Regions from separate parts of the Homo sapiens genome. Here regions 1, 2, 3 and 4 are each linked to region 5. The links are contacts of gene promoters, found by promoter capture Hi-C in blood cells and fetal thymus (Javierre and others, 2016). All regions are on one chromosome and are shown on one strand. Each heading gives the region's core, a stretch centred on a gene start or on the middle of the fragment in contact. The rest is flanking DNA. Distances are from core to core; before and after follow the strand shown.

The links. The method cuts DNA at HindIII sites, captures the fragments that hold promoters and counts their contacts. A CHiCAGO score of 5 or more calls a contact.
Region 1: a fragment that was not itself captured here is called in contact with the fragment with the promoter of LINC02332 in region 5 in 1 of 17 cell types (total B cells); the score reaches 6.3 in total B cells.
Region 2: a fragment that was not itself captured here is called in contact with the fragment with the promoter of LINC02332 in region 5 in 3 of 17 cell types (M0 macrophages, M2 macrophages and M1 macrophages); the score reaches 12.9 in M0 macrophages.
Region 3: a contact is called between a fragment that was not itself captured here and the fragment with the promoter of LINC02332 in region 5, in 1 of 17 cell types (total B cells). The highest score is 5.7, in total B cells.
Region 4: a fragment that was not itself captured here is called in contact with the fragment with the promoter of LINC02332 in region 5 in 1 of 17 cell types (total B cells); the score reaches 5.0 in total B cells.

Annotation. Positions count from the first base shown.
Region 1 is chr14:22,485,151-22,487,850 of GRCh38, forward strand. It overlaps TRA, TRAJ52 and the pseudogene TRAJ51. Among named protein-coding and RNA genes, the nearest start is that of TRD-AS1, 3.5 kb to the left of the region's middle. The HindIII fragment of the contact is 4,249 bases long and covers 1-2,700 here.
Region 2 is chr14:22,652,256-22,654,955 of GRCh38, forward strand. No RefSeq gene overlaps it. Among named protein-coding and RNA genes, the nearest start is that of OR6J1, 9.3 kb to the left of the region's middle. The HindIII fragment of the contact is 1,752 bases long and covers 388-2,139 here.
Region 3 is chr14:22,462,942-22,465,641 of GRCh38, forward strand. The region is part of intron 2 of TRD-AS1 (TRD antisense RNA 1); the gene reads right to left. It also overlaps TRA, TRD and TRDC. Among named protein-coding and RNA genes, the nearest start is that of TRD-AS1, 19 kb to the right of the region's middle. RefSeq lists enhancers at 1-1,152, 1,575-1,794. The HindIII fragment of the contact is 670 bases long and covers 1,081-1,750 here.
Region 4 is chr14:22,432,617-22,435,316 of GRCh38, forward strand. All of the region lies in intron 2 of TRD-AS1 (TRD antisense RNA 1), which reads right to left. It also overlaps TRA and TRD. Among named protein-coding and RNA genes, the nearest start is that of TRD-AS1, 49 kb to the right of the region's middle. RefSeq lists an enhancer at 725-784. The HindIII fragment of the contact is 2,236 bases long and covers 144-2,379 here.
Region 5 is chr14:22,555,656-22,558,355 of GRCh38, forward strand. It overlaps LINC02332 (long intergenic non-protein coding RNA 2332), which reads right to left and starts at 1,407. Exons shown (of 3, transcript NR_146543.1): 1 at 1,296-1,407; 2 at 1,137-1,198; 3 at 656-867. It overlaps LOC105370399 (a long non-coding RNA gene), which reads left to right and starts at 911. Exons shown (of 2, transcript XR_007064066.1): 1 at 911-1,911. RefSeq lists enhancers at 453-552, 603-942, 1,803-2,012 and a silencer at 1,053-1,102. The HindIII fragment of the contact is 9,123 bases long and covers 1-2,700 here.

The DNA of each region.
Region 1 (2,700 bases), core at 109-2,608, 71 kb before region 5:
GCCCAAAAAAAGTCTGAGTTAAGAAAACTAAATTCTATTAAAGAGGTGTCTGTTTTTCACACCCCTGGGGGACAGGGTTTGATCATCACCACATCATGAAACTGCCTGGATTTTGCTCTTCACATTTTTTGTGACATCCAGACACAGCCAGGGTGACTCCCAGGATTCCTGTGGTTGTGTCTGTTGGCAACAGAAGCATTATTTGGTCAAGGGATGAAATTTACAGGAACCCCAAGTAAATGTGCAAAAGCCTGCCCCTAATAGAGACCTCACTTAACCCTACCACTGTGGTCACCGGGCTGCTCTGTGAGGTCAGAACACCTCAGGTGAGACTGTGGAGTAACCAGATGTCCTGGTTTTCCTGGGTTTCAGGGGTTTTCCAGGACAAAGGTCATTCTTTGCTAAGCCCAGAATGATCCCCAGGATAGTTAATCACCGTAAGAAGGCACAGATAAAAACTTTTTTCTGTGAGCTACTACTTACATTTCACCAAATTCAAGACTGACAAAAAAACTACGTTGTGTGAAAGCTCAGTTACATGTGCCCATCATTTTTATTTCTTATGCTAGGGCATGAAGGGAAGCTCAGGAGATCCTGTTTCATGAGGCTACAGTCTAAATCTCATCTAATTCTAGTCATTCTCCAAAAAGCTGAACACTCTCCTCTTGTCTCCTTGTAATCAATTCATTGTCATCAGAAATGTGTGACACCTCGAGGGGAGGGGAGGACGTGTCTTGAAAACTGATCAGAGAAATTGTCCTGAAAATGATGCTGTAAAATGGAAATGAGACCTTTAGAAAGAGAGATGCTGAACATGAGAAATCAGTAAGCCTCAAGACAAAAACCAGAGGAAATGGAGAGAGATGGGAGGCAGGAAGCCGGACCTCGGGGGACGCAGCAGGTCAGTGTCCCAGGACCAGAGGTGGAAATGGTCTTCCAGCCTTTGGTGGGATGAAACTGAGCCTCACAGACCCAGGCCCCTTTGGGTGAGTTTATTCTCCCCAGAATTAAAAGAGGAGGAAGTCTGCGAGCTTCAGAAGTCCCCCTAGGGTTCTTGTAAAGGCCTCCAGTGCAGTGCTAATGCTGGTGGTACTAGCTATGGAAAGCTGACATTTGGACAAGGGACCATCTTGACTGTCCATCCAAGTAAGTGTAACAAGACACAGCAGTATACTGGAAATTCTGGAATGTCACCCCAGTGTCAGGTTTTAAAGAACCAGATATTGCTTAAAGTTAAGTGGTGTCCTCTGAGGTCCTTTCTCTTCTTTAACCTCAATATTCACAGATTTTCTTTTGGACCCTGAGTTGTTAGGTCTGTCTCCCTGCTGCGTGTACAGCTGACCTTGACCCTGGAAAGTCAGAATCTTTCCTGCTTTCAGTGTCTTCTCTGGAGGTGATGCCCTAACTTTTTTGAGGGGGAGGTCATCCTTTCCAAATGACTCCCCTGAGTAACCTGTTCTAATGTTTAGTAGCATTCCCTGTCAGAAGTCCTTCCTTACCTCAATCTTAAATTATTCTTGGTATAGCCGAGGCCGTTTCCACCAGCATCATCCACAATAAAGAGGAAAATTGAGAGCGGAGTTTGAATAGGTATGTGGTATTTGGTTCAGAATGGGTTTTAAATGAAAGTGGAGAGGGAAAAAATGAAACCTGAATGGGAATCTGAGGTCTTATTTCAAATCCCTCTCTGTTTCCTGTCTGTCATCTCCTTTTGCTTCTATAGATGCAAAACTACAGAGAGAGAGGCGGGGAGAGAAAGGATAGACAGAAATAAACATCCACTGTGTCCATTCCCTGTCACTGAAACCACCAGGCAAGGGATTACAATTAATTCCAAAGAGTTTCAGATACACGGCTTAATACCTTTCTCCTTGTGGTGACTTGTATCCTGGCTGATAATTAGAGCAGATAGAAAGATTTGGCTTTGGTGTGTTTGCCGCTGCACCCCGCTGGGAAGAGACAGAAACTTGACTGTTTTTTAAGATTCATAAAGTTCCTTCTGTCAGTCGTTGTAAAACTCCCTGAAGCAGGGAGATGCGTGACAGCTATGAGAAGCTGATATTTGGAAAGGAGACATGACTAACTGTGAAGCCAAGCAAGCTGGAAAGACCTAAACTCACAGTGTTCCTTATGTACTTTTGCTCCCTTCCCCGTTTCAGGCCTTTTGGCTGTTTCCTGTAGGGATTCTAAGAGAGTCAAATGGAAATGGATTGAAGAGAGTCTGAAGCCCCGTGGGTGCTCAGAAATGATAAATGAAAGGAATAAGAGACAGAAAGGGAAACAAAGTTGAAAAGCAGGAATATGTCTTTCACTGCAGCTTGATAAGACTGAGATGTGAGGTGGGTGTCAGAGAAGGGCATGATCGCTCCAGCTGCTATTGCAGAACACTCTGTTTTCCTAGGATCTCTATCAAGGGCAGTGTCCTCTTATGCCAAAGGGATGAGTCAAGTCCCTATATTTCTGGAGTAGCTGCCCTTGTGCAGGCATAGTTGGTCAGGCAGACAGCACAATCCCAGCTCAGTGTGTATGGAGGAGGCCACCTGACATTGCCAGCTGTATCTGCTCCATTCAGTGGCAGCATAAATCCATACCAGGTGGGTGTGGATTTGGAATATGCCAGTGCCACTACAAGGCTGAATGTTGAGTTGTTGTGATCATCTTGAATGTGTGAGATGCCTCCAAGTGAAGTCTGGTTCTAAT
Region 2 (2,700 bases), core at 14-2,513, 96 kb after region 5:
CTACTCAGGAGGCTGATGCAGGAGAATCGCTTGAACCCGGGAGGCGGAGGTTGCAGTGAGCCAAGATCGTGCCATTGTTCTCCAGCCTGGGCAACAACAGCGAAACGTCATCTCAAAAAAAAAAAAATTGAAAAATTGAAAAGAAAAAGAAAAATAGTGCCAGGGATGCAAGTACTGCCAGCCTCAAAGCACCTCGAGGCACTGATGCCGCTGGCATTTGCACACCTCAGCCTGGACTCTGCAGCGGCTGACAGGCACGTCTGCATCTTATCACTTAATAAACATTCATTGACACCTCCTATATCTTAGGCACTTTTGGTACATGCTGGAACACATTAGAGAACAAATCCAGTCCTTCCCCTCCAGGCATTTTTAGTCTAGAGCAGAAGCTTCAGAGTGTTCTAGCTTCAGAATTGTTCTTCAATTATACAAAAAAGGCCAGGCACGGTGGCTCATGCCTGTAATGGGAGGCCGAGGCGGGTGGATCACCTGAGGTCGGGAGTTTGAGACCAGCCTGACCGACATGGAGAAACCGCGTGTCTACTAAAAATACAAAATTAGCCCAGCTTGGTGGCACACGCCTGTAATCCCGGCTACTCGGGAGGCTGAGGCAGGAGAATCGCTTGAACCAGGGAGGTGGAGGTTGCAGTGAGCTGAGGTCGCACCATTGCACTCCAGCCTGGGCAAGAAGAGCAAAACTCCATCAAAATAAATAAGTAAATGAATAAATAAAATTATACAAAAAATTGTGTGTTTATGTAGATTGAGAGGGAGATGAGAACAGTCAAATTCTCAAATGGCTTTTTGACCCAGAAAAGGTTAAGAGCCTCCTAGTTGGGACCATCCATATCCCTCATTTCTAAATTCTTAGCAACTACCCCAGCACTTACTGACAGCACCTCTTGGGCATCTCTAACCTTTTGCAGTGTTCACAGTGCCTTCCTCACCAGCTCGTGGCAGACTCCTGGTGGAAGAGGAGGGAAGCACACCTCATTGTTGACATTGCCTCCTAGTTCCCGGGGAGCTCCATTCCAGGAAGGAATTTAACCAGGGAGTGGCTGTCCCTCTCTTTTGGATAACTTTGGGCTTATCCAGCGGACAAACCACTGCCTATTCCCTGACAGGCAGACTGACTCGGGGACATTTTTTCCCTGCCAAAGTACTGCTTGCTTCCCAAGACTTCTCCAGACTAAACATCCATTGACTGAGATGAAATATTACACTTTTCTTTTCCAAAGGGTCAAAGGGATTTCAGCAAGGTTCAGACTAAGGAAAAGAGGGCTGATTTGTGAATACACTGGGAAGAGCATTTTGGTCTAATGGTCTTATTTCTCATCCAAATTAATAACATGTCACTCTTGAGAACATTTTTGTTAATGACGCCTCAAAACACAACCCACCCAGCCCCAGACTGTGAGCCTTCAAAGACAAAGACAGGTCCCCGGCCTTCCCTTGGATGGCCCTACCGTTCTCTTCCCAGATGTTTTACGAGCCTGCTAATTTTTGTAAGATGTAATAAAATATATTTAAGGGAGAAAAAATGTACTAGACTGTTTTAATGAGCTTGAGCATCTATATTTTTGAAAATGTAATGTCAAGAAGCCAGGGAAAGTTGTTTTTTAAATTACCAGGAATTTTCTGATTCCACTTTTGGAGGAGACTTTGTTTGTTTATTTGTTTGTTTGTTTTTGAAAAACACTTCAATGGCTTTATGGCAGTAAAGCCAAAATCATATTCTCAGTAGCTTAAGACCGTGCTGAGCTACACAGCTCACCTTCATGACGCTGAGATGGCCTGCACTGTGGGAAGAGATCCCTCTCTACAGGTTAGGATGTGTCTTGAGAGGTGAGTCTGGGGCCACCATGGGGTTTTCCCTTCTCACTGGGCCTCCTGATCAGGGTCCAGCACCTGGCAGGGGAGTCATAGCAAATGGACCAGTGACAGACATGAGCAAAGACACTCCACGACAGAAGATAAGTCTCATGATAATGTGGCAGCAGAAAGAGAGATGAGCAGTGGGAGAGAAAAAACAAAATACCCTATCCAGATGAATGGCTGGTGGACTTTAAGAACAATAATCTCCTATATCTCATTGGATTTTTTCCCTCTTTCCTACACAATCCCCTCCTGTTATTCCAAAGCTTTCAATGAAACAGGGGTTACAATGGGCCTGACATACTCGGCAGATAATGTCATGGCATTGGTAAGAGTGTAGTAGTCAGGATGATCAGAGGTCACTCTCATTGCCATCTTGGTTTTGGTGGGTCCGCACTTGGTATGAGGAGGGGCGGGGAAAACAGGAGCAGTTGGAGAAACTCATCACAAGGTAGCCAGAAGTGACCAGCAGATCCCCAGAAGCAGCAGGGATCTGCAGGAAATGTAAGCCTTCGCTGATGGTTACATGTGAGGGGAACCAGAAAACTGCTAAAGTTGCAGTGGCTGATCACGACAAGGGCTTAGACTAGTAATTGTAAGCACTAAAGGAAAGGGTGGCTTTTGTAGACCAAAGAAATCAGACTTTGGAGTTAGTTTCTTAAATTGTATCAAAACAATTCATGGCCAAATGTTGTGAATGTTATGAACAGTAAGATGCAAAGGAGTTTAGAAGAAGGAGGGAGACTTAAAGGAGTTCTTCCCCATGATGGCTGGGAAGGCTTCACAAAAGAAGAATTCGAACTAGATCTTGAAAAGGGGGATCTT
Region 3 (2,700 bases), core at 166-2,665, 93 kb before region 5:
TCATACCAAACCATCCGTTTTTGTCATGAAAAATGGAACAAATGTCGCTTGTCTGGTGAAGGAATTCTACCCCAAGGATATAAGAATAAATCTCGTGTCATCCAAGAAGATAACAGAGTTTGATCCTGCTATTGTCATCTCTCCCAGTGGGAAGTACAATGCTGTCAAGCTTGGTAAATATGAAGATTCAAATTCAGTGACATGTTCAGTTCAACACGACAATAAAACTGTGCACTCCACTGACTTTGAAGTGAAGACAGATTCTACAGGTAGGCCATTTCTAGCTTCAAGGAGCTGGAGATTATGGGGAACAAGAATTGGGTGAAAGGGAAGTTAGAGATGTAACTGTGGACAAATCATTCTCAGTATAGCATCATGCTGGAAATAAGACTTAGGCCCAACTATAGCCTGCCATTGGCAGGGGAGGGAAATGCTTGTCATCCCTAAGATGGAATCTAAAATAAAGCCCATCTTATTTCTTCCTCATCTCTCCTCTTTACCTACCACTGTCCCCTTCATACTAGACTCTGGGATTGAAAGTCCTCGTGCATTCTAATCCAGTGCTAAATTCCAACAAAGGGCAATGCGGCCTATTGTGGGGCTAAGAATCCTAGTTCTTCCCGCATATTGGTGTGCCTGGATGTTGACCTCATGGTACAATGAAAAAGGCTAGAATGGGAAGCATGTTGTATAATTAGCTATGTGACCTTCACCAAGTCACATCCTCTGGTCCTCAGTTCACTCACCCAAAGTCTCCTCCAGTTTTAAAAGCCTACAATCCTGTGAGCCTCTTCATTCCCAATGTAACCCTGACCACTGCTGTTTGTTCCAGATCACGTAAAACCAAAGGAAACTGAAAACACAAAGCAACCTTCAAAGAGCTGCCATAAACCCAAAGGTTAGTTCAAATCAAAGGGCCAACTTCAGAATCAAGGGTTAAAGCAAACTCTGTAATTGTCCACTGGGGCCAAAATGTATCAGATTTCAAAAGAAAACACAAACCATGCTGAGCCCAGTTGGTTCTGCAGAGCCTCTGACTCTCCCAGCAAGGCTTACCTGGCTGTCGGCATCGGTTTCCCAAGCTTGCCTGGCTGGGTGTCAGCAGCAGCCTAAGGTCTCTGACGGCTATCTGGCACCATGCTGGACTTGCAGGCCAGAAAGAACTAGGCAGACTTGGGGCAGGCTAATATCAGTGTTGCAGGCCCAATTTCTGGAAGGGAATTTAATCTCTCCCTGAAGCCACCCTCTTCACTCTTTTTCAGCCATAGTTCATACCGAGAAGGTGAACATGATGTCCCTCACAGTGCTTGGGCTACGAATGCTGTTTGCAAAGACTGTTGCCGTCAATTTTCTCTTGACTGCCAAGTTATTTTTCTTGTAAGGTAAGAATTAGCCGCTTCTTATTCCTATCTCTACCCACACCATGCTGCACATGGGGAAAGGGGATTTAGAAATGGCTAAGAAACCAAGAAGCATTGGAAAGGGAAAATAGAGACATACTTAGAATTAATAAGGTAGGCTATCTCAGCTACTCAGCAAAACAGCACCCCATTTCCTGTTATCCTTTCATTTTGAGTCAGACTGAAACCCATTAGGTAGTATAATGTACTATTTTTCTAATATACCAGAGAATAACCCTCACTTTCACTCCAGGGAGAAAACTGAAGATAAATAAGGAGAATTCATCTTCTTTACTGCTATTTTGTTCATCGACCAAGAGACCATGGGTTATTTGCAAGGCCATAAGTAAAGCTTTGCCTGAAGACTATCCAGAGGAAGCAGAACCTATCTTTGTCCTGATAAAGGGAATGCCAGCTCACACTCCTTAATCATAGGACCAGCCTGTCTATGTGTGGATCAGCCTGTCTTTGGGATGAACCTACACACAGCATTAGTAGTGAACAGCTCACTATTAGCTACTCAGGATGCATACACAGTTAGGTTTGAGATGTCAATTATTTGCCTGTTACTTGCATTCCGTTCTCAGGTAATCTCATACACGAAATTGAAACCAGGGCCTGGGTTTGCGTGTGAGGCTTCTCCCCCTCACTCCTTCTCCAATACTCACAAATGCTCATCAACCCCAGCTTCTGTTCTAGGAACAACCCTAGACTCAGAGTACTTGACTGATCTGACCCAGACAGTAAACATACCCAGTCATCTCAAAAAGGGGGTCCAGCTCACCTGTTATTTTACTAACAGTCCCAGGGACACAGGCAGTGTGGCTGGGTAAAAAGAGAGCTATACTAAGAGTCAGAAGATCTGGGTTTTATCCTGATTTTGACACTAACTTACATGTTACCTTAGCCAGGTTTCTTCATCTCTCTGGGCCTGGGTTTTTGCATCTGCAAAACAAATGAGTTAAAAAAAATAATAACCAAAGGAGAACAAAAGAGTCTCATGACTTGTGCCAACACTGATAGCTGAACTAGCTGAGCTATTGCCATGTGTACATGGAAAGTGAGCCACAATAGATTAGTGATGTCTGCAATGGTACAGTATAGCAAGTACCGGCCAACCCCAGACTACATGACCCCTACGATTCCTTCTAGCACTGGCAGTCTATTCTATAACAACTTTCTTCACTGCAGGCTGACTGGCATGAGGAAGCTACACTCCTGAAGAAACCAAAGGCTTACAAAAATGCATCTCCTTGGCTTCTGACTTCTTTGTGATTCAAGTTGACCTGTCATAGCCTTG
Region 4 (2,700 bases), core at 12-2,511, 120 kb before region 5:
TCTTGATTAATCAAAGGGGATTGAAAGTCGTGGCTAACCTCACACCTACCTTGCATCACCTCCAGCTCACCTCCCTTGAGACACTCCTCCTCTTCTTTAATGCCTCATCATGATTCTCAAAAACTGTGATCACTCAAGGTTGAAGCTTTTAATCTCCCATGTATAAAAGGATATGCAAATAGAGTTCAGTTTCCTGTTGAGTCTCTGCCAAGGTCTTAGCCTGGCAGTTCTGGGAAAAGAGCCAAAGACCTCATATTTCTTGGCTGTTAACATTCTCCCATCTGTGCTCAAGTCAGCAGCCTAGGCTTCAGGCTGTGGTTTGTCTTTAGTCTTACACTTTCCCAAGTTTTCTGAAGGAACCCTTTAGAATGTTCCTGCAAGAAAGTAAGATACAAGTGGCTCCCAAGAAACCAGACAGAGGATTATCTGGTTATATTTGGAGGCAGTAAGAAAAAGACCAGGAAGTCTATATTCCTATAGTATATAGCCACAGAATCCAATCTTGCAAGCTACTTGAAATGCTGATATTAATTAAGTCTTAGGCAGGGCTTTCAATAAGTCATCTGTGTCTCCAATATGGGATGTCCCACATCATGCATATGCACAGTGAAAAAAAGCGAGGTCCTTGGGTACAGTACAGCATTCAAAAATTAAAGATCTGAAAAACACAAGACATCTCAGTGTGCTTCCGGGCTGGAGGCTCTGCTAAACAACAGAAGCAGAGACCGGACTAATTGTCCCCCATGTCTCTTTGACTGAACTCACACAAAATAGAATCTACCATTTTTACTCAGTGCGGGGTACCCAGACTCAAGTTTACTGCAATGTTGTTACCAATATTCTAATGGAAAATTATATATTCAGAGCTATGTTAAATTTGACCATTTATTAAACATGAAATTTCTACTTTTTCTGTAAGTGCCTTGTCTTACTTGTATTTCCCGGTATTTCCCTTCTAAAGCTAACTCCCCAAAGGGCTTTCCTGTATGTTCTCACTTCCATTACAAAGTCAATGTACAAGTTAATTTTTTTAATTTCTTTAGAAACCTTTATAAAGAGATTTCCTCCTTCATTTCTCTGTTATCCCAGGCAGCTGTCAGGAGCAAAGAGCTCAAGCCTGCACTGCCTTGGAACAGGACATCAGCAAAAGACACTCTCAATCTACTCAGAAGGCTGAGGTGGGAGGATTGCTTGAGCCAGGGGTTCAAGACCAGCCTGGACAACTAAGTGAGGCTCAGTCTCAAAAAAAAAAAAAAAAGATCTCAATATTATTGTTCCATACCCAGTCATTCACTTGGTGTTTTCTGCAGCATTTATTTATAAATATCTCAGTCTGTTCTTAATCCTTGAGCCTATATTTTTTAAAATCATACTTTGATATCTACTCAGAGTATTGATTCTCTTCAAATTTCCCACCTCTTAGTTCTCCTCCCACTCTCTCCCACCCTGAGCCTTACACCTCCAACAATGATCATTCTAAGACCATTTATATCTCAATAGGAAAGTGATGTAAAACGGGTCTCCTTACTCTGTTTTGGAGGGTTTTTTTGTTGTTGCTGTTGCTTGCTTCTCTGTCCCACCCCAAACTCATGTGTGTCTGAAATTTAGCACCACCTTGCGACGTTTGTGAGCATTTTTCTCAGAGCAGCATTTTGAGACTGAGCCTGAACTCCACTGATGTTATGACCCTTAAAAGTGTCTGGCTCCAAAAGACTAAGGAGTTCCTGCGTAAATCCAGGTCCAGCTACTTCATCACTGTGACTTGTTATTGGAAAAGGTTGAGCTATCAACATATTGCTCCTGTAAAGGCTCAGAACTGAATCTTAGATTCTTCAGGATATTTGAGTCCTCTGAGGCTCCTGGGTAAAGACTCCAATGTAGCAGTTCTGTGGACTATAAATGGGAGATATCCAGATCATACACCTTCAATGGAAGAAAAAGCACTGTCACCTTAGACGACTCCAACTCTGTAGTCTACTTTTGTCTTCCTAATATCATACCTCATTCTCCAGTGGGTTTATGGCAAGCCTCATCTACTCAGAAGTAACCAAGTACAAGCCAACACACTCTTGTGTTAGTGTGGAGGCCCAAAGTGGCATAAGTGAATGTGACTCCAGATGAAAACCTTCCCCTCTCCAACACAAAGATGCCAAAGACTATGTATAAAGCAAGTCTTAAATCACTCTATATTTCCATTTGAATATATTTCCCCAGTTCCTGTGCATTGCTTCTGCATACACAGAATTCAATGATAAAAATTGAGACTGTCTCCTAGATACAGTAATTAACTCAGCTATCAATGCCAATTGACTGTGTAGAGGGGAGACAATTTTGTACCAAGATTTACTAACCTCTATTTTAATGGAAAAACAATGGAAAAGCTTTCTTCCTACTATGACTCTCTCTGGATAAATTGCTTGCCAGGAAGCGTTAGGATAATTCTGCCATGACTCTTTGTCTTCCACACCCAAAGACATTTGGTCTCCATCACATATGGAGGAAGGATCTCCTTGTTCAGCAGTATTTACACCATCACCCTGACACCCGCAGTCAGATCTAACTATACAGCTTGGCTAATAAACCTGGAGAAGCTCATATTCTAAGAAAAAAGTGGAGAGTGGTGGGACAGATGGGGCCTGAGTGCTGGGAAACTGCCCGTGCCCACTGCTGACTTGGTCTTCTCACCAGCTGCTTGATCTA
Region 5 (2,700 bases), core at 157-2,656:
TGTCATCAATGTGTCCCCAGGAACTAGAACAGTGCCTGGCACACAACAGATGCCGTTAAATGAATAAGTGAATGACTCCTGCAGTTAGGCTCTGGGTGGGGGGAGCTGAGTGTGAGGAGTGGGGAGTACAGGAGAAAGGAAAGTGGGGATTAGTAGAGGAAGTGGTCAGGTGAGTCAATGCTTCACAGTTTTGCCAAGAGCTAAAGTAACTTGTCAAGAACTTCAGAACAAGGAAAGCCTGAGTGGTGGCCCCTTGCTCAGGGCAGCCCCCAGGCAGGCACACATCTATCCAACAAAGCCTGGAGGACAGGGACTGTGGTAAATCACGCAGGGTACCTGGGAGTCTGACCTCACTGTGTGACCACACTGAGGTCCAGAGCCAACAGTCACTTTATGTGGGTTCGCCTCAGTTTCTCCATGAGTCCTACTCTAAAACCCATCTACCTCCGTGAGCCATGTGTGGGAAGACGAGCTTCTGACTGGGATGAGTCTGGGGGAGCAAGCACATGGAGACCCAGTGCTGTCATTCTGGCTGCCGGAAGGCTGCAGGACCACCAGCGCCCTGCGTCTGTGTCAAGGCCACCTGGGCAACGCGGCGAGGGGTGGGGAGTGCAGGCCTCCTTTCACACAGAGACACACAGGCCTGAGGCCTCTCTGGGTAGCACACATAGAGCTATATTTTGCAATTAATAAACAGGTCAGACATTGAGTCAGTAGCCACAAGTAGAACAGGAAGTGGAAAAAGTCTCCCACTTCCCTCCAGGTGTTTGGGGGCTGGGGCGGTCCCCTCCCATTTCCATGACGTCATGGTTACCAAGAGGGGCAAGTAGGGCACCCTTTGAAGCTCTCCCGCAGAAGCCACATCCTCTGGAAAGAAGAGTTTAAAATACTGAGTTAGAGATAGCATCGCCCCAGGCCACGTGCCGAGGGGAGCAGGCTGGGCCGTTACACCACCCCCCAACCGCAGGTGCAGCAAGGCCAACATGCCAGGCTGGGAGGGGCTGCCGGCCCCTCGGTGACTTGCACCGGGCCCGCAAGCAGGCTGGGGAGGTGCTGCTGGCCCCACCGCTGAGCCGCCTCCCTCACCGCACCTCTGCTGCCCCTCCAAACCAGCCAAGATCAGACCTTGATCTCACCTGATTAAGCGCTTGCTTAGTACAGGGCAGACCCTCGAGACTTATGCTCAGGCCAGTGTCTCCTGGGAGGGAAGGAGGTGGGGAGGCCGTATTTGCCCCCACACAGAGCTAGGGCTGATTCTCTGAGGGACCCCCCCCCAATAGCACCTCCCCCCTTACCCTGATGCTTGTCCATTAGGTGATGGCCCTAATGGACGCCTTGATGGACACGTCCGGGACCCAGGGACCCGGAGACCAGGAATCTGCTGGTCTCAGGGAGCCGCAGAACCTGAAACCCAAAAATACCAGGCTTGATCGCCTGCTCTTCGGTAGTGTCGCCATCCACCCGCATGGGGGCAGCAGCGCTCCACCAAAAAGACCTCTTCTCCCTTTGTCTGTTAATTCTGGAGATAGAAAGCCCCCAAAGTTTAGGAAAAGCTCTTTTCCGAGGAAAATAAAAGGGCAGGTGACTTTTATCCCACAAGTCCCTGCCCTGTGCCCGTCACTGCGCTGGGCGCAAGGCCTGTGTCATCCTGTCACATCCCCCCCCAAAGGAGAGGAGGGCCTGGGGCCTGGGCCGGCAGCAGGGGGCGCTGTTCGTCCGGGATCGTCAGACCCGCTCCACCCGGAGCCCTGGAGGAAGTGCCCAGGGAGGGCTGGGGGCCCGGAGGAGGCCTTGGGTTCGGAATTAGGCTGGCTGGAGTCCGGGATCCACCACATCATACACTCGTGCCTTTGGCAGGTCACTAACCGCCCACCGCCTCAGTTTCCCGGTGGGACGAACTCTCTCTCACAGGTAGTTTAAGAACCAGGCTTTCTTTGGCATTGTATACCTGCCATGTGCCAGGCTGTGTCGTGCTCTGGGGATTCAGTCTCTGTGCAAACTATGACTCCATACAGATGAAGTCCAAGAACAGGCAAAACGCATCACAGGTGATAGAAATTAGGGCACTGTTTGCCTCTGGGGTAGAAGGATGGATTGAAAAGGGGCACGAGGAAACCTTCAGGGGTGGTGGAAATGTTCCATATCTTTATCTTGGGTGATGGCTATATATATATCAAATGCATCATTAGTGTATTTTCATGTAATTATGCCTCAAGAAAGTACTGCTCCCATTAAATACACACACACACACACACACACACACACACAGAGTTTCTGTCTTCAAGGAGTTAACAGTCCAGTGAGTAGTGGGTATGAAAGAGATGTGTTAATGGCTGCAATTGCAAGACAGAGGCTTTTGTTACTATATTCTCCTCAGGCAGGAGTCCTCAGGCAGGAGGCAGGAGAACCAGTTGTTTGTCCCTAAGCGTCACTGCCCCTCACTAGCCTTCTCTCCTGGGGCCTTTAATTTTTCTGAGTCCCCATGTGTTATTATTCACATAGAGATAAAAATACCTGCCCACCTATTCTCAGTGTTGTTGAAGGGATTGAAAGCAGTAATGGGTGTGGAATGCTTAGTAAACTGAAATCCCAGTGCAAATATGAAGTGGGAATGCATCAGAATGCCCAGGAAGACGAACCATGACCCGAACAAGATGGGCTGGGCCAGGTCAGATGGCACTGCCATACTGAGAAAAAAGT